Linked DNA regions of Homo sapiens: all the other regions are linked to region 1. Evidence: promoter capture Hi-C in 16 types of primary human blood cells and fetal thymus (Javierre and others, 2016). All regions are on one chromosome and are shown on one strand. Each heading gives the region's core, a stretch centred on a gene start or on the middle of the fragment in contact. The rest is flanking DNA. Distances are from core to core; before and after follow the strand shown. Region 1 holds the start of DCTN2 (dynactin subunit 2). Region 2 overlaps R3HDM2 (R3H domain containing 2). Region 3 overlaps R3HDM2 (R3H domain containing 2). Region 4 overlaps OS9 (OS9 endoplasmic reticulum lectin). Region 5 has its middle 3.9 kb from the start of OS9.

Region 1 (4,329 bases), core at 790-3,289:
ACCTACGGGAGTGTGTGTTTTCTGTCTCAGTAACCATTGGAGGATAGAGTCCCAATACTTCAGCCCCCTTCCCTGGCCAAAAAAAAAAAGGTGTGGGGGAAGAAAAACGAAAGAAATGCCAAGCCCAGAGATTCCTTGTCCTTCCTTCCTTTGGGTCAGACTCCTGCTGCAGCCCCTGGAAAGAACCACCAAGAAGCTGGCCAAATTGATTTTTCTCCATGTCACAGGCCTCTGCTGGCCAACAGAGAGTTGGACTGCAGGAGTTGAGGTTCTAGGCAAAGAGGAAGGGCAGGGTGGATGGGAGAAGGAGGAGGAAAGGAAAGTTCTGCTCAGCAACTGTCTGGTGAGTGGTTAAGGTCACTTAAGACACTATGGGACAAAAGTAAGAGGCTGATAGCCTGGCCAGACAAGACCTAACTATTCAGAACTCAGGGGGTTTCCCACATTGGGGCTACACCTCTAACCTACCTTGAATCTTAAGGGAACTGAAAGAAAAGAGTCCAACATAAGGAATGGGACAGGAAAGCTGTAGGACTATGGAGAAAGGGATAGAGGCTTGGGGAGGAGCCAGGAGAAAGAAAGACAACGAGTTCCGAACTCAGGAACTCTCTAGTCACTTGGTTTGGCACAATTTCTAAGTGTTGCAGCATCCTGCAAGCTCAGGAAACATCCTGGGAAACATCCCATCCTTGGGTCCCCAGGGGCTCCAAGGTGGCATCTTTAGTAAAGGGGTTTCAAAATGCCAGTCCATGGAGGGTCACTGGTCAGAGACAAAAGTTCACTGAGTATGCCCTCACCTCCAAAAGAACAATGGTGAGTTTTTTTTTAATATAAAGATGGATTTGATAAGTTTCAAAGGACTATCTTTTATTCTGAGTGTGTCCTTCTTGCTTTTCTACCAAGTAATGATGGTGACAGTAAATAATAGGTTTTCTATTTGTAATATACTTACTTGATAAAATAAAAAGGCAAATCTTCAAGGTTTGTAGTTGTTTTAATTTTATTGAACGATGAAATTTAAAAGTCTGAGAACGGAAGGTAAGGTTGGTGAATAGGTACAAAAAATTAGAAAGTATAATAAGACCTACTATTTGATGGCACAATAGGGTGACTATAGTCAAGAATAACTCAACTGTACATTTTAAAATAACTTAAAGAGTAATTGGATTATTTGTAACTTAAAGGATAAATGCTTGAGAGGATGGATACCCTCTTCTCCATGATGTGCTTATTTCACATTGCATGCCTGTATCAAAATATCTCATGTGTCCCATAAATACATACACCTACTGTGTACCCACAAAATTGAAAAAATTGAAAAATAAATAAAAGTCTGAGAACTATTAACGAAGTAGTTAAGAGCCCAGAGAGTGTTCAGACAGACATGGAGACACCACTTACCTACTTATGAACTTCAGATAGAATTGCCAGATTTGAAAAACAAAAAACAAAAACAGGATGCCCAGTTAAATGTGAATTTCAGATACTTAATTTTTGGGGGGTTAGTATACCCACACACCACACACCACACACACACACCTACTTATTATCTGAAATTCAAATTATCTGAAAGCCCTTACTTGAGAAGATTGCCTAACTTTTTCATTCCTAACATACACTACGCGTTTACTAAATTTTACTTCTTGTTTTTATTTTGTTTTTATAATACACAGTATCAAGCAAACTTCTTGTTTTTGAAACCCCGGCTGTGTCACAGTATGACTACCTGTATCATTTAATCTAGTCATTTTATTCCTGGGAGCCCCAAACAGGAATTATAAATGTTCTTTCACTGACTTGCTGTAAAAGTGAGAGAAAAGGCTGTATGAAATAGCTCCCCAAGGTTCGTTATTGTCGCTCCCCGCCCAAGCTCCAGTACACCAAAACTACACATCCCACAATCCTAGGCGGCGTCCCCTGGCCATTACCTCATTCCCTGGCCTCGTTCTCCCCAATCCCGGCCTCTCCAGGGGTGTGGCAGCAGGGCTGTTCTCGCGACTTTTGCTTTACCCTTCTGCTGTGCTACTGCTGTCGCGAGACTTCCTGCTCATCTGCCGCTCCCTTTGCCGCCGCCTTAGCCCGGGACCCGAACCCAGCCTCTCCCCTACCCGAACACCGGCCCCGGCTCCACCGAGGCCCGGGTCCCCCAGCCCGTCTCGCCGCCGCCATGGCGGACCCTAAATACGCCGACCTTCCCGGCATTGTGAGTACAGGACCGGCCCCGGCTCCCCAGGACCGCGCCCCCGACCTCCCAAGGACCCCCAGCAGAAACCAGCCCGCGACCCCTCCCGCCTGCAGCCCATCCTCCGCCCAAGGGCTCCCGCCGCTCGTTCTCCGATCGGCCTCAGCACCCCCCGAACTCTTCTGACCCGACTGGGCCGGGCCGCCGGACGGCGCACCAGGCCCCCTTTCCGGCAGTCGCCGGTAGCTCGGCCCAGAAATCGACTCCGGGTACTGACCTCTTGTGCCTGAGTTTTTCCACCATCCGTGTCAACGCCTCCCATGTCCCCCCCAAATCTCTCCATAAGACCCCATCGCTACCCCAGACACACACACCAGACCACTTAACGATGGCCTTCATCCTGCCAAGGAAGAGGTTCTGCCATCTGGCAGAACCCTCTTGTGCCAGATGGGGAGCTCTATCCTTGAGGGAACCTATGCCCTCCCCCAGCCCCCACTCCCATGACAATCCTGGCGTGTACCTTCCTTTTGTGCTGCCCTGCCTGCTTCTCAAGGTGAGGGTTGGGACACAGGACCTTGAGTACTAAGGTCCTGAGTCACTCTCAATCCTTGTGCCAGGGTGGTGGTGTACGGGGCCTAATTGGAGGATAGCCTTCACCTTCTTTGGCAATAGTGATTGCCAAGGACCTGCCCGCCTCTAGATTTAGGGTAACATCGTTGCTATCACTTACACTCACCGTTTACTGTCAGGTCCCAATTGTTTCCGCTGTCATCCCTACCCCTTGAGACATGGGAACTGACATACTGTTGACTCACGGGGCAGGTGGAGGAGAAAGGACAGAACCCTGACATCACACCCCGCCTTCTCTGTTAGCTTATTCAAATGGAGTGGGGGAAGGGGTGTTGTTGGATGCTGGGTAGTGAGGTTGGGTGGTCACTGCTTCTACCTGCAGGCCAGGAATGAGCCAGATGTTTATGAAACTAGCGACCTACCTGAGGATGATCAAGCGGAGTTCGATGCGGTAAGAATGTGTGCTGCCACAGACTCCTCCGGACTCTGACCTTTCTCCCCTAGACAGGTCCTTCCCTTTCTCGGGGGAGCTACAGCAATAAGCGGGTATGCCAACCCCAGCCTGGGTGGTATATAGGTTGCAGGGCTTGCAAAGACCTTGCTGGGCTTGCAGCCACCAATGAGCAATGGCAGGAGGGAGAGTCAAGTCAGCGGAATTACAGCTAACAACATCTGTTTGCAAAGCCCTGATTCTTGGGCCTTTTAAATAAAATTGAAATATCTCAAAACAGGTTTGGAGCTAGTGACTTAGGCCCCTGGGTTCTAACCCATGGAAATGAATCATGAAGCCTGGGCACTTGTAATAAACTGCTACCAAGAACTAGACTTTGAAATATGGAGAAATACTTTTTCCATATGAATATCCAGTATCCATTGGGCAAGGAATTAAGAAAGTGATTCCAAGATTTTAGAGCAAAACAAATTTGAGGAAGAATGTAAATATTTCACATCAGCGGATGTGAGACTGTGGTTGCATTTTTAGATCCGAGAATTCTGAGGATGGAGTAATTAGGTACGGATACATTTTAACTGTGAGGGGAAACATTTAGTATGGTTTATTGAGTGTGTTCATTCTGTGGTTTTTTTTGTGCAATGCAGAGGAAGAAATGTCTCTGCCCCCAATGAGCCCCAGACTAATGGGGAATTAGGATACATATAGGAAACATATAGAAGGAAAAAAAAATTGAGTGAATGGAAATCAACATAGTAAAAACTCTGTTTAAGTGCCAAGAGGTGTGTTTATAGGATGTGTTTTAGGTTCTATTATTTCTGAAGACAGCTGGGCTGGGATCACATTGATGATGTGAGTTCTCAGTAAAGATGTGTCCAAGAGTCATTGCAATATGCAGGCTCAGTATGCTTGTCTGTAAGTCCTGTGGCTATGTCTGTGGGGCTGGTTAATTCTGGGGAATGCTGACTGCTGGCTTACAATGTGTGGCTTGGCGTACTCACTTATTTCTTATTTGACTCCCCCATGTGGAAGTGGTTCTTACATTGTGGGAAACACCTTCTCTGTCCCTTCTCCCAGTGGTGTGTTCCTTGTGGCTTCTGTATTTGCTGGCATGCCAATCTATCCC
Region 2 (4,329 bases), core at 893-3,392, 260 kb after region 1:
TGAGAACTAAATCTAGGCAAGGTTGATATTCTTGAAGTTATGGTTACCTTTGGAGATTGGTAAAGATCAGGAAGACCAGCCTAGAGCAGCAATCTCCTTAGTTGCTTCATGTGAAGCTTTCAAAGCCTCTGGGTTGGAAGTCAGAATCTTTTATAATCTGGTGATATTCATTTGATGAGTTTTCTCCCTTAGAACTCCTTGCCTTCAAGAGCAGGATGGATAAGGACACTCTATTACACCCTACCCTGGACAGTGTTCACCAATTACAGGCCAGGAGAGGAAAGATCATGATGAGGATTTAGATGGTAGGCTACTCAGAGGTGGTGATCTCCCCAGCCATCCCGTCTGGTTACCTCACTACATTTTCTAGAGAATGTAAGGTTCTTCTCTATCCTCTATTTTCTTATTTTCCTTGTCTATCTCTCTGTCTCTCCCCTTCCTCCACTGTACCTTACTTCTCTTCCTTTCTCTGCCCCTCTTTCTATCTGTTCTCCTTTTCTTTCTCTTTGTATTGCTCTGTTCTCTTTCTTCTTTATTTCTGTAATTTGTCTCTCCCCTTCCCCACCTCCAGTTAATATAGTTAAGTTCAGGAAAAAAATGCTTAGGCTTTGAGTTTAGCTTCGCCCTTGGGATTTCATTTCCAAGGCCCTCTTTGCTGAGCTGTGTGTGATTTGGGTCTTCAGGCCATGGCATTAGTGACTAAATAAGGAATAATGCCAGGTGCTAGTTCTATAAACCTCCTCCTCTACTGTTCAGCTCTGCTAAACACCTGTTTCTTCTCCCGTTCCAGCTTCCCTCTGTCCTTTGCTTTCCCTCTAAAGCAGTGTTGTTCCTTTTCCCAGGGCTATTTTCTCGATCCTTACTGACTGGAGGCTACCTGATTACTAGAGGGAAGCAACCCAGTCCTTATAAATAGTTGTTATTCTTGATACTGCGGGGGTGGGAGGGGTGGGGATTTGGAGAGTCCCCAGCCATCCAGAAAACCTGATCTCCCAAACTGCATGGTCAGATGTACCCAGTGAAACTTCTCCAGGACTGGAAATTTTATTCTTTTTTTTTTCCATTTTTTTGATGGCAACTATAAACTTTCCCGGTTTCTCTTCCTTGCTGGTGTGCAGTGAGCTTGCAGTACGAGGAGAACTTAACTAGCTTAATTCTGCTCATCGATCTAGATCAGAGTTCCATTGCAGGATGGAAGGAGGAGCAAGTCAATAGAAGAGAGAGAGGAGGAATATCAAAGGGTCCGAGAGAGAATATTTGCCCGAGAGGTAAGTGTAGCATCTGAGAGTTGTCAGCCCATAGCTTTTAGCTCTTAATCATTGGAACTGTGAATGGAATGAACCCTCCACAAATGTTTTTGGGTTTGTTTGTTTGTTTTATTTTAACCAACATCAGCCAACCCTAGATTTGATCTCTAAAACTAAATGTGGCTTATTGGGAAGCTGCAGATTTTCACTTATATTGTTTTCAATACATTCTGCCATATGGTATTCAAAGAGAACTATAACTTGGAGTGGCTGAATTTGGTAAATTTGCCTAGACTGAAAATAGAAATGGTTTTGGCAGGGTCTGAATCTTGCCTCTAAAACCCTCCTTCTGCTTACCCTCTTTCACTCCCTCTATCCATTTTAGGCATCTTTGCTTCTAAGTGGAAGACATAGTGTTCACACAGGCTGTACATTCATCTTGTTTGACCAGCCTCATTTTTAGGATATGTTGGTGATTGTTAGAGCACAGGTCTGGCATCCATCCTCTATGAGCTCCACATTCTACATGCACAGAGAGTACCACTGTTCTCTCCAGTCTCTACCTGAAAAGGAAGTCTCTTTCTTCCTATATTTCTTACCTTGCTTCCTACAACAGGACTAGCTCCTAGGGCTAAAAGCCAACATGAATCAGTTTAGGCAATGTTACTCTTAAATGTGTGGACTATATCAAATATACTTGGTACCCCTGTATCTGGTTGCCTTTGCCTACCAGATTGAAGAGAAGAATAGCAGAAATTCAGGAAAGGTTGTGGGTGTACAAGAGGGAAACAAATCTCCAGAAAATGTAGTATCCAGATATGAGCACCATCTCACAATCACATGAGTAACAAAAGAGGGAAAGCCAGTCTCCCTTCATTGTCAAAAGATGGTCAGGGTTTTCTTTGTTTTTTATTTTGTTTTTTTTTGTTTTTTTTTTTTTAGATAGGGTTTCGCTTTGTCACCCAGGCTGCAGTGCAATGGCACAGTCACAGCTCACTGCAGCTTCAACTTCCTGGGCTCAAACGATCCTCTTGCCTCAGCCTCCCGAGTAGCTGGGATTACAGGCACGCATTACCACGCCTGGCTAACTTTTTTATTTTTTGTAGAGATGGGGTCTCACTATGTTGCCCAGACTGGTCTCAAACTCCTGTGCTCAAGTGATCCTTCCGCCACAGCCTCCTAAAGTGCTGGGATCATAGGCATGACCCACTGTGCCTGGCAAAAGATGGTCAGTTTTAATCAATATACTTAGATGAACACTACTTTCCTCCCATTCCCCCATTCTCCCCTTTCTCACCAAGGGGGGAGAATATATATATATATATTTTTTCATCATCATCATTAGTTTAGAAAAATACTGTCTCCAACTAAAAAACTGAACAACTGTATGTACTTGCGCCATTGTCTCAGAGATCCTCACTGGGAACTGATATACAGCAAACTTTCTGGCCCAAAGTCCAAGAAGGAATCTTCTTACCTCCTATTATGTAGACTTCCATTCTGAGTCAGAAAAGTCCATCTTCCAAATTATTCAACCATAGCCCAAAGAGGGTTTTCTACCTTTACCTACAAACCAGTTGGATGGAATGAGAGGAGAGATGTCATTTGTACATGGCTGTGGCCAGTGATAACCCCCTAAGTTGTGTACGGAACAGGTTGGTGGTTAATAGCAGCAAGTACTGGTTGGGCACTGTGGGTCACGACTGTAATCCCAGCACTCTGGGAGGCCGAGGCAGGTGGATCACCTGAGCTCGGGAGTTCGAGACCAACCTGACCATCATGGAGAAACCCCGTCTCTACTAAAAATACAAAATTAGCCAGGCATGGTGGCACATGCCTGTAATCCCAGCTACTCAGGGGGCTGAGGCAGGAAATCACTTGAACCCAGGAGGCAGAGGTTGTGGTGAGCCAAGATCGTGCCATTGCACTCCAGCCTGGGCAACAAGAGGAAAACTCCATCTCAAAAAATAAAAAAATAAAAAAAAGTAGCAAGCACTTATATAGCACTTACTATCTTTTAGGCATTGTTCTTAGTACTTGATATAGATGAACTCAGTCCTCATACTAGGCCTATGAAGTAGTTTATATTATTTTCCCCATTTTATAAAAGAGGAACTAAGGCTCATAAAGATTAAACAGCCACCTAAGTTCACACTGCTAGTTAGCAAAAGAGCTAAGTATTTGAATTCAGCCTGGCTCCAGAGTCTATGCTCTTAACCCCCTAATGTAAACCACCTCCCAATAGCTTGCTCTGCTCTGGGCTCTTTAGATTAAGAAGTACCAGTGACATCGTAACCTAGCTGACTATCTGTGATGTGTTCCTCTGCTTCACTTACACCTGGAAAATGACTGCCCCACTATGATAGCCATTAGCAAAGCTACAGATGTTCTGAAAGCACAGACAATTTATAATAGGGTATTAGAGCTAATTATGTACAACAGTGGACTGTATCTACCTACAACCATAACAAAGGCAAAGTTAGCTCTTCTCTTTTTTTTTCTCCTGATTTCTAGTCTTCAAGCCTCTACTAATGTATGTATTCTTTGTTAGATCCTTGTAGATTTATCACTTTGATTTCAGCACTTCTAACTCTTGTTGTGGTAGAGGCATCAGGAATCTCAGAAAGTCTAGACAAGGAACTATGGCCAAAGCCCATCATACTCCAAAGATTCCATGTGGAGAGGAGCCTGGCTAAAGGGAGCTGATTAGGGGTGGAGTTGTGGGGTTGGGTGTGGGAGCAGGAGGCAGGCCAAAAAGAAAGGAAGTGGCAAGAAGGGTGTTTGGATGGAAATGCTGCTGCTGCAGCCTTCTCTGGAGCCTGAGCTGTATATTGGAAAAGCTGCCCAGCATAGGCTCTGCTCTGCATGGAGCTCACTCTGCTCAGCAGCTGGACACTCTTGGTACCTTTTCCTAAAGCTTGGGAATCCACCACAATGCTCACTTCACTCAGCTCAGTGGCTTTGTCAGGAAATGATCCCCAAAGGGAATGTTTCAGGCTTTTAATTTTCTCATTTTTTCTAGGCCCTGAAAAGTAACTGCTTCCCCAATATCCCACCCTCCTTGGGTCTCAGGTCAGAATGT
Region 3 (4,329 bases), core at 707-3,206, 230 kb after region 1:
GAAGACTTTCCCTTCACTAAGAGGTATACAAGCAGGGACATTTTTCACAGTTACTAATGAGTTAAGAACCTAATTATGGAAGACTACGGTTGTAGAAAAATGGAGCTAAGGCTGGGCGTAGTGGCTCACGCCTGTAATCCTAGCACTTTGGGAGGCTGAGGCGGGCAGATTACTTGAGGTCAGGAGTTCGAGACCAGCCTGGCCAACATGGTGAAACCCCTTCTCTACTAAAAGTACAAAAATTAGCCGGAAATTGCTTGAACCCGAGAGGCGGAGGTTGCCGAGATCATGCCGCTTGCACTCCAGCCTGGGCAATAGAGCGAAACTCCATCTCAAAAAAAAGAAAAAGAAAAATGGAGAATGAGAAAGCTTCTAAATACCCTTACAGTTATGAGATTCCATGATTCCCTTGTGTCTTTGGTAGACTTTCCTTTCTGGTTTTTGACTATTTCTCCCCTTAGTTAGAGGCAGTATTGTATAAAGTTTAAGAAAGCAAGTAACAAAGCCAGATTTTCTGGATTTGAGTCCTGGCTCTGCCATATGCCAGTTGTGTGCCCTTTTAAGCAAAGTGTTTAACTTCTCTGTGCCTCAGTTTACTTGTCTGTAAAATGGTGATAATAGTAAGAATAAATATGTAATAGGATCATTGTAAGATTAAATGAGATACATAAAATATTTTAGGATAGTGCCTGGCACAATGTAAGCACTCAAAAGTTTTAGCTGATTATTATTATTATTGCCTGTCTCCCTGTCAGTTATTTCTTTCTTTCTTTTTTCTTTTCTTTCTTTTTTTTTTTGAGATGGAGTCTCGCTTGTTTGCCCAGGCTGGAGTGCGGTGGCACGATCTCAGCTCACCACAACCTCCGCCTCCCAGGTTCAAGCGATTCTTCTGCCTCAGGCTCCTGAGAAGCTGTGACTAAGGCACACACCACCATGCCTGGCTAATTTCTGTACTATTAGTAGAGATGGGGTTTCACTATGTTGACCAGGCTGGTCTCGAACTCCTGACCTTGTGATCTGCCCACCTCGGCCCCCCAAAGTGCTAGGATTACAGGAGTGAGCCACTGCACCACCCAGCCTGTCAGTTATTTCTACTTAAAGAGCTGGACTTCTCTGCCTGGTCCAGGTAGTTCCTCTCTTTTTTCTTTTCTTTGAGACAGAGTCTTGCCTTTTTGCCCAGGTTGGAGTGCAGTAGTATGATCTCGGTTGCCCGCAACCTCCTCTTCCTGGGTTCAAGCTATTCTCCTGCCTCAGCCCCCCAAGTAGCTGGAATTACAGGCAGACACCCCACCATGCCCGGCTAATTTTTGTATTTTTAGTAGAGATGGGGTTTGACCATATTGGCCAGGCTGGTCTCGAACCCCTGACCTCAAGTAATCCACCCGCTTCAGCCTCTCAAAGTGCTGGAATTACAGGCATGAGCCACCTCGCCCAGCCATTCCTTTTTTTTTTTTTTGGGGGGGCGGGGACGGAGTCTCGCTCTGTTGCCCAGGCTGGAGTGCAATGGTGCAGTCTTGGCTCACTGCAACCTCTGCCTCCCAGGTTCAAGTGATTTTCCTGCCTCAGCCTCCTGAGTAGCTGGGATTACAGGCACCCCCCACCACACCCGGCTAGTAATTTTTTTGTATTTTTAGTAGAGACGGGGTTTCACTATGCTGGCCAGGCTGGACTCGAACTCCTGACCTCATGATTCGCCTGTCTCGGCCTTTACAGGCGCGAGCCACCCGGCCTGGCCCGTTCCTCTGTTAATATACCCTTTTTTTTTTTTTTTTTTTTAACTATCTTCTTAATATACCCTTTTTTTTTTTTTTAACTATCTCCCAGGATTCTGACATAATAAACTCAACTCAGAGTATCTTAAATGGTAAGAGGATTTATAACTTCACATATCAGGAAGTCCAGAGATAGGGAGGGTCGAGATTGACTATTGTCTAATCACAGCATCAAGGATGCAGGCTCCAGCCAGTCATGGTGGCTCACATCTGTAATCCTAGCACTTTGTGAGGCCAAGGCGGGTGGATTGCTTAAGCCCAGGAGTTCAAGACCAGCTTGGGTGACATGGCAAAACCCCATCTCTATTACAAATACAAAAATTAGCCATTCGTGGTGATGGGCGCCTGTAATCCCAGCTACTCAGGAGGCTGAGCCCCAGAGGTTGAGGCTGCAGTGAGCTGTGATCATGCCACTACACTCCAGCCTAGGTGACAGACTGAGACCCTGTCTCAAAAAAAAAACAAAAAAACAAACAAAAAAAAACACAAAAAGCCTGGGCAAGGTGGTCACACCTTTATTCCAATCGCTTTGAGAGGCTGAGGTGGGCAGATCACCTGAGGTCAAGAGATTGAGACCAGGCTGGCCAACATGGCAAAACCCCATCTCTACAAAAATACAAAAATTAGGCCAGGTGCGATGTCTCACGCCTGTAATCCCTGCACTTTGGGAGGCCAAGGTGGGTGGATTACCTGAGGTCAGGAGTTCAAGAGCAGCCTGGCCAACATGGAGAAACCCCATCTCTACCAAAAATACAGAAATTAGCTGAACGTGGTGGCACGTGCCTGTAATCCCGGCTACTCAGGAGGCTGAGGTAGAATCGCTTGAACCCAGGAGGCAGAGGTTGCAGTGAGTCAAGATCACACCACTGCACTCCAGCCTGGGTGACAGAGTGAGACTCCATGTAAAAAAAAAAAAAAAAATAGCTGGGCGTGGTGGTGCATGCCTGTAATCCCAGCTACTAGGGAGGCTGAGGCAGGAGAATCACTTGAACCTGGGAGGTGGAGGTTGCAGTAAGCCAAGATCTCACCACCGTACTCTAACCTGGGTGATATAGTGAGACTCCATCTCAAAAAAAAAAAAAAAAAAAAAGGATGGATGCAGGCTTATTTTCTCTGCTTCCCCATCCTCCATGTGTTGGCAGGGTGCTGCCACAGTCTAGGTATCATCTGCATCCAAGATCACCTTTGGTAGAAGATACCTGTTTCTTCCAGAGGCTTAAAAAAATTTTAAATAAAATAGGAAACCTTTTCCATTCAACAAAGTCCCTTTGTGTCTCACTTGTCCCTTCTAAAACCAGTCACAAAAAGGAAACAGAATTACCACAATTGGTTTAACTAATTTATATCCATCTCCCAGGGATTGGGGATAAGGTCTCCTTCCCTGATCATGTATTCTCAGGGGAAGGCAAGCGCCAAAAGAAATCTGGGTTAGATCAATGAATGTGGAAGAACAGGGAAGTCTGGGGAGGTGCCCTTTCCTCTGCTGCTTCATTTTTCTCAGTGTAAGAATTATTTTGTTTTATACAGCTCTTCAAGAGGCTGGTGGTCTCAGTAGAATGACTGACTAAATTTTTTTTGAGACAGGTTTCACTCTGTTGCGCAGGCTGGAGTACAGTGGAGTGATCTCAGCTCACTGCAACCTCTGCCTCCCAGGCTCAACTAAGTAGCTAGGACCACAGGCGTGTGCCACCACGCCCGGCTAATTTTTGTATTTTTGGTAGAGATGGGGTTTGCCATGTTGCCCAGGCTGGTCTTGTACTCCTAAGCTTGAGCAATTCACCTGCCTTGGCCTCCCAAAGTGCTCTGACTGTAGGCGTGAGCCAACACGCCCAGCCAACTGATTAAATTCTTAAAAGTGGGTAGTTAAATGAGTCTGTTTTATGGGTATCTGTGAGAAGCTAAAGTTCAAGTCTTCCTGTTTCTCCAATGAATGAAGGAAGCCATGTGTCTCCGTAAAACTTGAGGTTGAATATGTGACCATATTCTACAGATGAAAGATCATTTTTTATTTGTTTGTGTTCAGTGTTTTGGCTGAGAAACAGTGGTTGGACACTGATATTATTCCAGGTATCCAGATAGTTGGTCTTTTCCTGACCCACATGTGAAGGAGAGCTGCAAAGTTGTCATTTTGATTTGACGAAATATACCCATTTGGTAATTAAGGCCCATCCTTGAAAAAGAAACAAACCACTGCTGTGCCTTGAACGGTGGCTGAGGCCTGTAATCCTAGCACTTTGGAAGGCCAAGGCAGGTGGATCACTTGAGCTCAGGAGTTTGAGACCAGCCTGGGCAACATGGCAAAACCCTATCTCTAAAAGTAATAGAAAAATTAGGCTGGGTGCAGTGGCTCACACCTATAATCCCAGCACTTTGGGAGGCCGAAGTGGTGGGTGGATCACCTGAGGTCAGGAGTTGGAGACCAGCCTGGCCAACATGGTGAAACCCCGTCTCTGCTAAAAATATAAAAATTAGCCAGGTATGGAAGCGAGCGCATGTAATGCCAGCTACTTGGGAGGGTGAGGCAGAAGAATCACTTGAACCTGGGAAGCAGAAGTTG
Region 4 (4,329 bases), core at 550-3,049, 160 kb before region 1:
CTGATGATTGGCCAAAATCCAAAAGTTTAAAAATATACCAGGTTGGCACGGCTATAGGGAAATCAGCATTCCCATACGTTGTTGGAGGGAAAGTAATTTACCTAAGCAGAGTGATTTCGCAGCACGTAGCAAAATTACACAAACTTACTGCAGCACATAGCAAAACTACACAAACTTACTTCCAGGAACTCAATTTACATATCCTCTGTAAGTACAAGATTATTCAGTGCAGCACTTGTGTGTTAATAAAAGATTTAAAGCAAGCTAAATGTCCATCAACAGGGAACCATTTAGATAAAAAATGATACAACTATATAACAGAATAACAGAAACTATATGCAGGAATAAGGATGACTTTTTTTTTTTTTTTGAGACAGTGTCACTCTTTTGCTCAGGCTGGAGTGCAATGGTATGACAATAGCTCACTGCAACCTTGACCTCCTGGGCTGAAAAGATCCTCCCTTATCAGCCTCCTGAGCAGCTGGGACCACAGGCACACACTACCACACCTGGCTAAATATTTTTTTGTAGAGATGGGATCTCACTACGTTGGCTAGGCTGGTCTCAAACTACTGGCCTCAAGCGATCCTCCTGCCTCCACTTCCCAAAGTGCTAGGATTACAGGCATGAGCCACCACACCTGGCCCAAGTAAGGTTTTATATATATATTGATTTGGAAAGAGTGCAAAGATATATGCTTATATGTGCATTTAAAAAAATCTCAGAGTATATAAAGAAATTAACAATGGTTACCTTTCTTTAAGGATGGAAAGAGGCTAATGAGGGACAAGATGTGTTAATACTTTTCTCTGTATACCTTTTAAGCATTTCTATAGTTGAGTTATGTGAATGTGATTATGCCTATTCAGAAAATTTAATATAGAATTTTTTATTTAAAAAATTTGAGATGATGTCTTGCTCTGTCACCAAGCTGGAGTGCAGTGGTGTGTTCATAGCTCACTGTAGCCTTGACCTCCTGGGTTGAAGAGATCCTCCCAACTCAGCCTCCCAAGTAGCTGGGACCACAGGCACGTGCCACCACACCTGGCTAATTTTTTTTTTTTTTCCATAGAGACAGGGTCTCACTGTGTTGCCTAGGCTGGTCTCAAACTCCTAGCCTCAAGTGATCCTCCCACCTTGGCCTCCCAAAATGCTAGGATTATAGGGCATGAGCTACCATGCCTGGCCAGAATTTTTTAATGTTAAAAAAAATTCAAGTTGTTAGAAAAAAAAGAAATCAGAATAACACAAAGAAAGGAGAAGGAAGGAAATAACAAAGATAAAATAACGAACATGTGGCGGGACACGGTGGCTCACGCCTGTAATCCCAGCACTTTAGGAAGCCAAGGCAGGTGGATCACCTGAGGTCAGGAGTTCGAGACCAGCCTGACCAACATGAAGAAACCCCGTCTCTACTAAAAATAAAAAAATTAGCTGGGCATAGTGGAGCATAAAGCACCATCCCCTTGGTGCTTTCTCGTGACAGTGAGTGAGTTCTCAAGAGATCTGGTTGTGGCATGTCCCCCCTCTCTCTTTTGCTCCTGCTTCCACCATGTGAGACTCTGGCTCCCCACTTGCCTTTCACCATGATTGGAAGCTTCCTAAATCCTCCTCAGAAGTAGAGGCTGCTATGCTTCCTGTATGGCCAGCACAACTGTGAGACAATTAAACCTCTTTTCTTTATAAATTGCCCAGTCACAGGTATTTCTTTATAACAATGTGAGAATGGACTAATACAATGTTAGTGAAATACTAAATGAACAACAGAGAGGATAAACAAAACCAAAAGGTGGTTATTGGACTAATAAACTAGACAAGCCTCTGGCAACATAGATCAAGAAAAAAGAGAAAAGGCAAAGTCAATATTAGGAATGCAAAAGAGGATATATTTACAAAAAGAGATTATTAAAAAACAAAAAAATCTGTAATTTTATACTAATACATTTGAAAATTTAGACAAATGAATAATGGCCTATGAAATTATACTTTATTAAAGCTTCATGATGCAGCAAACCAAAAAAGTCTTATAATCTTTAAATAAATTAAATCAGTAGCAACAACGATCCCCCCAATATACCGGTTTTGTAGCATATTGTGGGGATGGGGAGGATTTATTTTATCTAAACTTTTTTTTTTTTTTTTTTTTTTTCAGAGAGTCATGCTCTGTCACCCAGGCTGGAGTCCAGTGGCGTGATAACAGCTCCTAACAGCCTCAACCTCTCCAACTAAAGCAATCCTCCTGCTTCAGCCTCCCAAGTAACTGGGACTACAGGTGTACACCACCACATCAGGCTAATTTAAAACTTTTTTTTTGAGAGACAGGAGTCTCACTATGTTGCTCAGGCTGGGCTCCTAGGCTCAAGAAATCTTCCTGCCTTGGCCTCCCAAAGTGTTGGGATTACAGGCATGAGCCACCACACCCGACCCTACCTAACCTTTGAAGAATAATCTCTATCTTAGCAAACTGCTCCACAGAGCAGAAAAAGAGGGAAGCTCCTCAAGATATTTTATGAAGTGAATGCAACTTTATACAAAAACAAGGTAAGTACAAGAAGAGAAAATTATAGACCAATTCACTTACGAAAATAGTTATAAAAGTTAATTATACTATCAGGATACTGAATATAGCAATGTACAAAAAAAAAACTTCATGACCATGGATTATCCCAGAAGTGAAAGAATAAAAAAAAACTAGAAAATAAATTAACATTTTTAATATTAAAAAAACCATATGACTATCTCAATAGACACAGAATAAGCATGTGTTAAACTTCCACACCTATACATGGTGAAAATATCCAGCAGTCTAGGTACAGAATGGAACTTCACATACCTGATAAAAGGTATCTGCAAAAAGCCTGCAGGAAAACATCACGCTAACAGTGAAACTTCAGGAGCATCCCCTTTAAAGTCAGAAACAAGTCAAGGATGCCCATCATTGCCACTTCTGTTGCACTCGAGGTATAAGAAAAATGAAATGTATACAACTTAGAAAGGAAGAAACCAAAACTGTTTCTCTTGCAGATGACATAATTATCTATACAGAAAATCCACAAGAATTTGTGAACTACTAAAAATGAAAGAGTTCAAAAAAGAGTTGCTGAGTGTAAGATCAATATGTAAAACCAATAATGTGACCATGTACCAGCAACAATCAGAAAACGGAATTTTTGGCCAGGCACAGTGGCTCATTGCCTGTAATCCCAGCACTTTAGTAGGCCGACGGTGGATCACATGAGGCCAGGAGTTTGAGACTAGCCTGGCCAATATGACAAAACCCCCGCTCTAAAAAAATTACAATAATTAGCTGGGCGTGGTGGTACGCACCTGTAATCCCAGCTACTCGGGAGGTTGAGGCAGAGAATCACTTGAACCTGGGAGGCAGAGGCTGCAGTGAGCCAAGATCGCACCCCAGCCTTGATGACAGAGCAAGACCCCATCTCAAAAAATAATAATAATAAAGAAAATGAAATTTGTAAAAGATGCTACTTAAAATAGCATCTAAAACTATAAGGTCCTGTATGTTTGAAATATATGCATACACAAACAAGACAAAAATAAAAACTATAAGGTATCTAGACTAATCTCACATAAGATGTAGAAGAACTTTTAGAGAAAATTAAAGCTTTACTAAAATATAGGACAACAAGTAAATGGAAACAAACACGTTCATAGTGTATGAAGACTTCATATTATAAAGTATCAATTCTCTTCAAATCAGTCTAAAATTAAATTCCAGCCAAAATCCCCAAAAGGAGTTTTAACAGAACTTGGCCAATGATAGCCCCAACAGTTTTGAAGAAAAAAGGGGAGTATATCCTACCAGATACCAAGATTTATGAAAAAGCTATAGTAATTAAAACAACGTGGTAATGACATAGGAATAGATAGACTATTGGAACAAAAGAGAAGCCAAGAAGAAAATGCACATATATTTGAGAACTTGGTAAATAACTGAGGAGGCATTACAAATCAGAGAGGAATGTATGGACTATTCAATAAACAGTGCTGGGGCAACTGTGGAAAATAGGTGTATCTAGGTCCTAACCTTATAACATACATTAAGATAAATTTTTACTGAATTGTAGTCCAAAGTATGAGAAACTCTATTCACACTTTTCTACTTTTTTAGAAACCTGAAAAAAACAGATGAATAGTAAATAGGAAAGGATTAAATAAAAGACATAAGATGTATAAGGTATAAAGAAAAAGACTGATAAGTTTGACTATATTGGAATTTAAATTTTTTAAATTAAAATTCATTTAAGACACTATAAACAAAACAAGAAGACAAAGTATAGATAGAAAGAATGTAGGTGACAAATAATT
Region 5 (4,329 bases), core at 1,365-3,864, 140 kb before region 1:
AGGAGAAAACATAAAAATAAAGGATCAGTCCAGAAGGTCTGGACTAAATAAGAGTTCTAAATTAGAGTTCCAGAAAGAGAACAGAGAATCAGAAGAGATCATCAAAAAAACTATTTAAAAGGACTATCCCAAACTGAAGAACAGTCTCCAAATTGAACAGGCACCCTAAGTATCCAGAACAACAAATCAAACCCACACCAAGACACATCATTATAGAATCTCAGAGTACTGGACACAGAGAAAAAAATTCTAAAAGCTTCCAGAGAGAAAGAACAAGTTGCATATACAGACAAAAAAAATCAGAACATGTGACTTCATGTTGTTGCTTTGTTAATACATTTTTTAAAAATCAGTATAACATTAGGATTAAGAATCAGAACACCATTGCTACCCAAAGCAATCTATAGATTCAATGCAATCCCTATCAAAATACCAATGACATTCTTAACAGAAATAGAAAAAACAACCCTAAGAGACCTAGAATGGAACCACAAAAGACCTAGAATAGCCAAAGCTATCCTGAGCAAAAAGAACAAAACTGGAGGAATCACATTACCTGACTTCAAATTATACTGCAGAGCTATAATAATCAAAACAGCATGGTACTGGCATAAAAACAGACACAGACCAATGGAATGGAATCCAGAATCCAGAAACAAATCCATATATCTGTATTGAACTCATTTTTGACAAAGGTGCCAAGAACAGACACTGGGGGAAAGACAGTTTCTTCAATAAATGATACAGGGAAAACTGGATATCCCTATGCAGAAGAATAAAACTTGACCCCTATCTCTTACCATATATAAAAATCAAATCAAAATGGCTTAAAGACTTAAATCTGGCTGGGCGCAATGGCTCATGCCTGTAATCCCAGCACTTTGGGAGGCCGAGGTGGGTGGATCACGAGGTCAGGAGATTGAGACCATCCTGGCTAACACGGTGAAACCCTGTCGCTACTAAAAATACAAAACATTAGCCAGGTGTGGTGGCAGGCACCTGTAGTCCCAGCTATCCGGGAGGCTGAGGCAGGAGAATGGCATGAACCTGGGAGGCCGAGCTTGCAGTGAGCCGAGATCGCGCCACTGCACTCCAGCCTGGGTGACAGAGCGAGACTCTGTCTCAAAAAAAAAAAAAAAAAAAAAAAAAAAAAAAAGACTTAAATCTATGACCTGAAACTATTAAACTACTACAAGAAAACATTGAGGAGCCTCTCCAGGACATTGGCCTGGGCAAAATTTCTTGAGATACCCCACAAGCACAGGTAACCAAAGCAAAAATGGACAAACAGGATCACATCAAGTTAAAAAGCTTCTGCACAGCAAAGAAAACAACAAAGTGAAGAGACAAGCCACAGAATGGGAGAAAATATTTGCAAACTACTTGTCTGACAAGGGAGTAATAACCAGAATATATAAGGAGCACAAACAAAAGAAAAAAAAATCTAATAATCTGATTTAAAAATGGGCAAAAGATCTGAATAGACATTTCTCAAAAGAAGACATACAAATGGCAAACAAGTGTATGAAAAGGTACTCAACATAATTGATCATCAGAGAAATGCAAATCAAAACTACAATGAGATATCATCTTACCCCAGTTTAAATGGCTTTTATCCAAAAGACAGGCAATAACAAATGTTGGAGAGGATGTGGAGAAAATGGAACCCTCGTACACTGTTGGTGTGAATGTAAATTAGTACAACCACTATGGAGAACAGTTTGGAATTTCTTCAAAAAACTAAAAATAGAGCTACCATACAATCCAGCAATCCCACTGATGGGTATATACCCAAAAGAAAGGAAATCAGTATATCGAAATGATATCTGTACTCCCATTTTTGTTGCAGCACCATTCACAATAGCTAAAATTTGGAAGCAAACTAAGTGTCCATCAACAGATGGATTTAAAAAAATGTAGTACGTATACACATAGGAGTACTTACTATTCAGCCATGAAAAAGAATGAGATCCTGTAACTCGCAACAACGTGGATGAAACTGGAGGTCATTATGTCATATGAAATAAGCCAGGCACAGAAAGACAAACTTAGCATGTTCTCACTTATTTGTGAGAGCTAAAAACCAAAGCAGTTGAACTCACGGAGATAGAGAGTAGAAGGATGGTTACCAAAGGCTGGGAAGAGTAGTGTGGGGTTGAGGAGAAGTGGGGATGGCTAATGGGTATAAAACATAGAAATAATGAAAAAGACCTAGTATGTGATAGCATAACAGGGTGACTATAGTCAATAATAATTTAATTGTACATTTTAAAATAACTAAAAGGGTATAATCGGATTGTTTGTAACACAAAGGATAAATTCTTGAGGGGATGGATACTCCATTTTTCATGATGTGATTATTACTTATTGCATGTCTGTATCAGAGTATCTCATGTACCCCATAAATATATACATATATACACCACTGTGTGCCCACACAAAAATAAAATTTTTAATTGTATTTAATTGATTCCTTATCAGAACAGCATTGGGCTTACAAACTCATCAACATTGGGAGGAATGAGTGTGGTGGCTCACTCCTCTAATCCCAGCACTTTGGGAGGCCAAGATGGGAGGATCACTTGAGCCCAAGAGTTTGAGACCAGCCAGGGCAACATAGGGAGACTGCATCTTTACAAAAAAAAATTTAAAAAAAATAGTAGGGCATGGTAGCGAGTGCCTGTGATCCCAGCTTCTTGGGAGGCTGAGGTGGGAGTATTGCTTGAGCCCAGGAGGTCAAGGCTGCAGTCAGCCATGATCACGCCACTGCACACCAGCCTGGGTGACAGAGTGAGACCCTGTCTCTTAAAAAAGAAAAAATACATTGGGAGCTAGAAAATAATATAAAATATCTTCAAATTTTTTAGGGAAATTATTTCCAACCTATAATTCTATGTTCCACCAAACTATAATGTTTTTTGATTCAACATTATTTTTGTATAAATTTGTGGAATGCAAGTGCAATTTTGTTAGATGCATAGATTGTGCAGTGGTGAAGTCAGGGCTTTTAGGGTATCCATTACCCAAACAATATGCATTGTACCCATTAAGTAATTTCTCATCATCCAGCCCCCTCAAACTCCATCATCCTTCTGAGTCTCCATTGTCTATTATTCCACACTCTATGTCCATGTGTACACATTGTTTAGCTCCCACTTATAAGTGAGAACATGCAACATTTGTCTTTCTGTTTCTGACTTGTTTCACTTAAGATAATGGTCTCCCATTCCATCCATGTTTATGCAAAAGACAGATTTCATTCTTTTTTATGGCTGAATAGTATTTCATTGTATATATAGACCACATTTTCTTTAACCAGTCGTCCATTGATATACACTTAGGTTGATTCCATATCTTTGCTATTGTGAATAGTATTGCAGTAAACGTACAAATGCCAGTATCTTTTTGATGTAGTAATTTCTTTTCCTTGGGTAGATACCCAGTAATGGGATTGTGGAATCAAGTGGTAGTTTTATTTTTTAGTTCTTTGAGAAATCTCCATACTGTTTTCCATAGAAGTTGTACTAATTTACATTCCCACCAACAGTGTTTAAGTGTTCTCTTTTCTTCATGTCCTCACCAACATCTGTTATTTTTTGACTTTTCAGTAATAGCCATTCTGACTGTTGTAAGACGGTGTCTCATTGTGGTTTTAATTTGCATTTCTCTGATGATTAGTGATGTTGAGCATTTTTTCATATGTTTCTTGGCCATTTGTATGTATTTTTGGAAAAAAATGTCTATTCATATCCTTTGCTCACTTTTAATGGGGTTATCTGAGATTTTTGTCGAATTTTAGTTCCTTTTATATTCTGATATTAGACCCTTGTTGGATGTGTATTTTGCAAATAGTTTCTCCCATTCTGCACGTTGTCTGTTCATTCTGTTGACTATTTCTTTTACTAGTCAGAAGCTTTGTAGTTTAATTAAGTCCCACTTGCCTATTTTTGTTTTTTGTTGCCTGTGCTTTTGAGGTCTTAGTTATGAATTATTTTGCTAAGCCAATGTCCAGAAGAGTTTTCCCTAGGTTTTTGGCTGGTATTTTTATAGTTTCACATCTTACATTTAAGTCTTTAGTCCACCTTGAGTTGATTTTCGCATGTAGTAAAAGATAGGGGTCCAGTTTCGTTCTTCTGCACATGGCAATCCAATTTCCCCAGCACTGTTTATACCATTTGTTGAAAAGGATATTCTTTCCCTTGTGTGTGTGCCTGTGTGTATTTATTGATTTTTTGAGACAGGGTCTCGCATTGTCGCCCAGGCTAGAGTGCAGTGGCACAATCATGGCTCACTGCAGCTTTGACTTCCTGGGCTCAAGCTATTCCCCCA

Evidence for each region. The method cuts DNA at HindIII sites, captures the fragments that hold promoters and counts their contacts. A CHiCAGO score of 5 or more calls a contact.
Region 2: a contact is called between a fragment that was not itself captured here and the fragment with the promoter of DCTN2 in region 1, in 1 of 17 cell types (neutrophils). The highest score is 6.8, in neutrophils.
Region 3: a contact is called between a fragment that was not itself captured here and the fragment with the promoter of DCTN2 in region 1, in 1 of 17 cell types (neutrophils). The highest score is 5.1, in neutrophils.
Region 4: a fragment that was not itself captured here is called in contact with the fragment with the promoter of DCTN2 in region 1 in 8 of 17 cell types (M2 macrophages, M1 macrophages, erythroblasts and 5 more); the score reaches 11.6 in M2 macrophages.
Region 5: a fragment that was not itself captured here is called in contact with the fragment with the promoter of DCTN2 in region 1 in 1 of 17 cell types (M2 macrophages); the score reaches 6.6 in M2 macrophages.

Annotation. Positions count from the first base shown.
Region 1 is chr12:57,544,902-57,549,230 of GRCh38, reverse strand. DCTN2 (dynactin subunit 2) reads left to right here and starts at 2,039. Exons shown (of 14, transcript NM_001261413.2): 1 at 2,039-2,203; 2 at 3,135-3,203. The coding sequence starts at 2,168. RefSeq lists an enhancer at 1,771-1,910. The HindIII fragment of the contact is 9,827 bases long and covers 1-4,329 here.
Region 2 is chr12:57,289,511-57,293,839 of GRCh38, reverse strand. R3HDM2 (R3H domain containing 2) reads left to right here. Exons shown (of 24, transcript NM_001394031.1): 11 at 1,173-1,268. Among named protein-coding and RNA genes, the nearest start is that of STAC3, 40 kb to the right of the region's middle. The HindIII fragment of the contact is 4,048 bases long and covers 119-4,166 here.
Region 3 is chr12:57,315,116-57,319,444 of GRCh38, reverse strand. The region is part of intron 2 of R3HDM2 (R3H domain containing 2); the gene reads left to right. Among named protein-coding and RNA genes, the nearest start is that of STAC3, 66 kb to the right of the region's middle. The HindIII fragment of the contact is 3,169 bases long and covers 372-3,540 here.
Region 4 is chr12:57,704,667-57,708,995 of GRCh38, reverse strand. The region is part of intron 5 of OS9 (OS9 endoplasmic reticulum lectin); the gene reads right to left. Among named protein-coding and RNA genes, the nearest start is that of OS9, 13 kb to the right of the region's middle. The HindIII fragment of the contact is 399 bases long and covers 1,600-1,998 here.
Region 5 is chr12:57,688,068-57,692,396 of GRCh38, reverse strand. No RefSeq gene overlaps it. Among named protein-coding and RNA genes, the nearest start is that of OS9, 3.9 kb to the left of the region's middle. The HindIII fragment of the contact is 2,602 bases long and covers 1,314-3,915 here.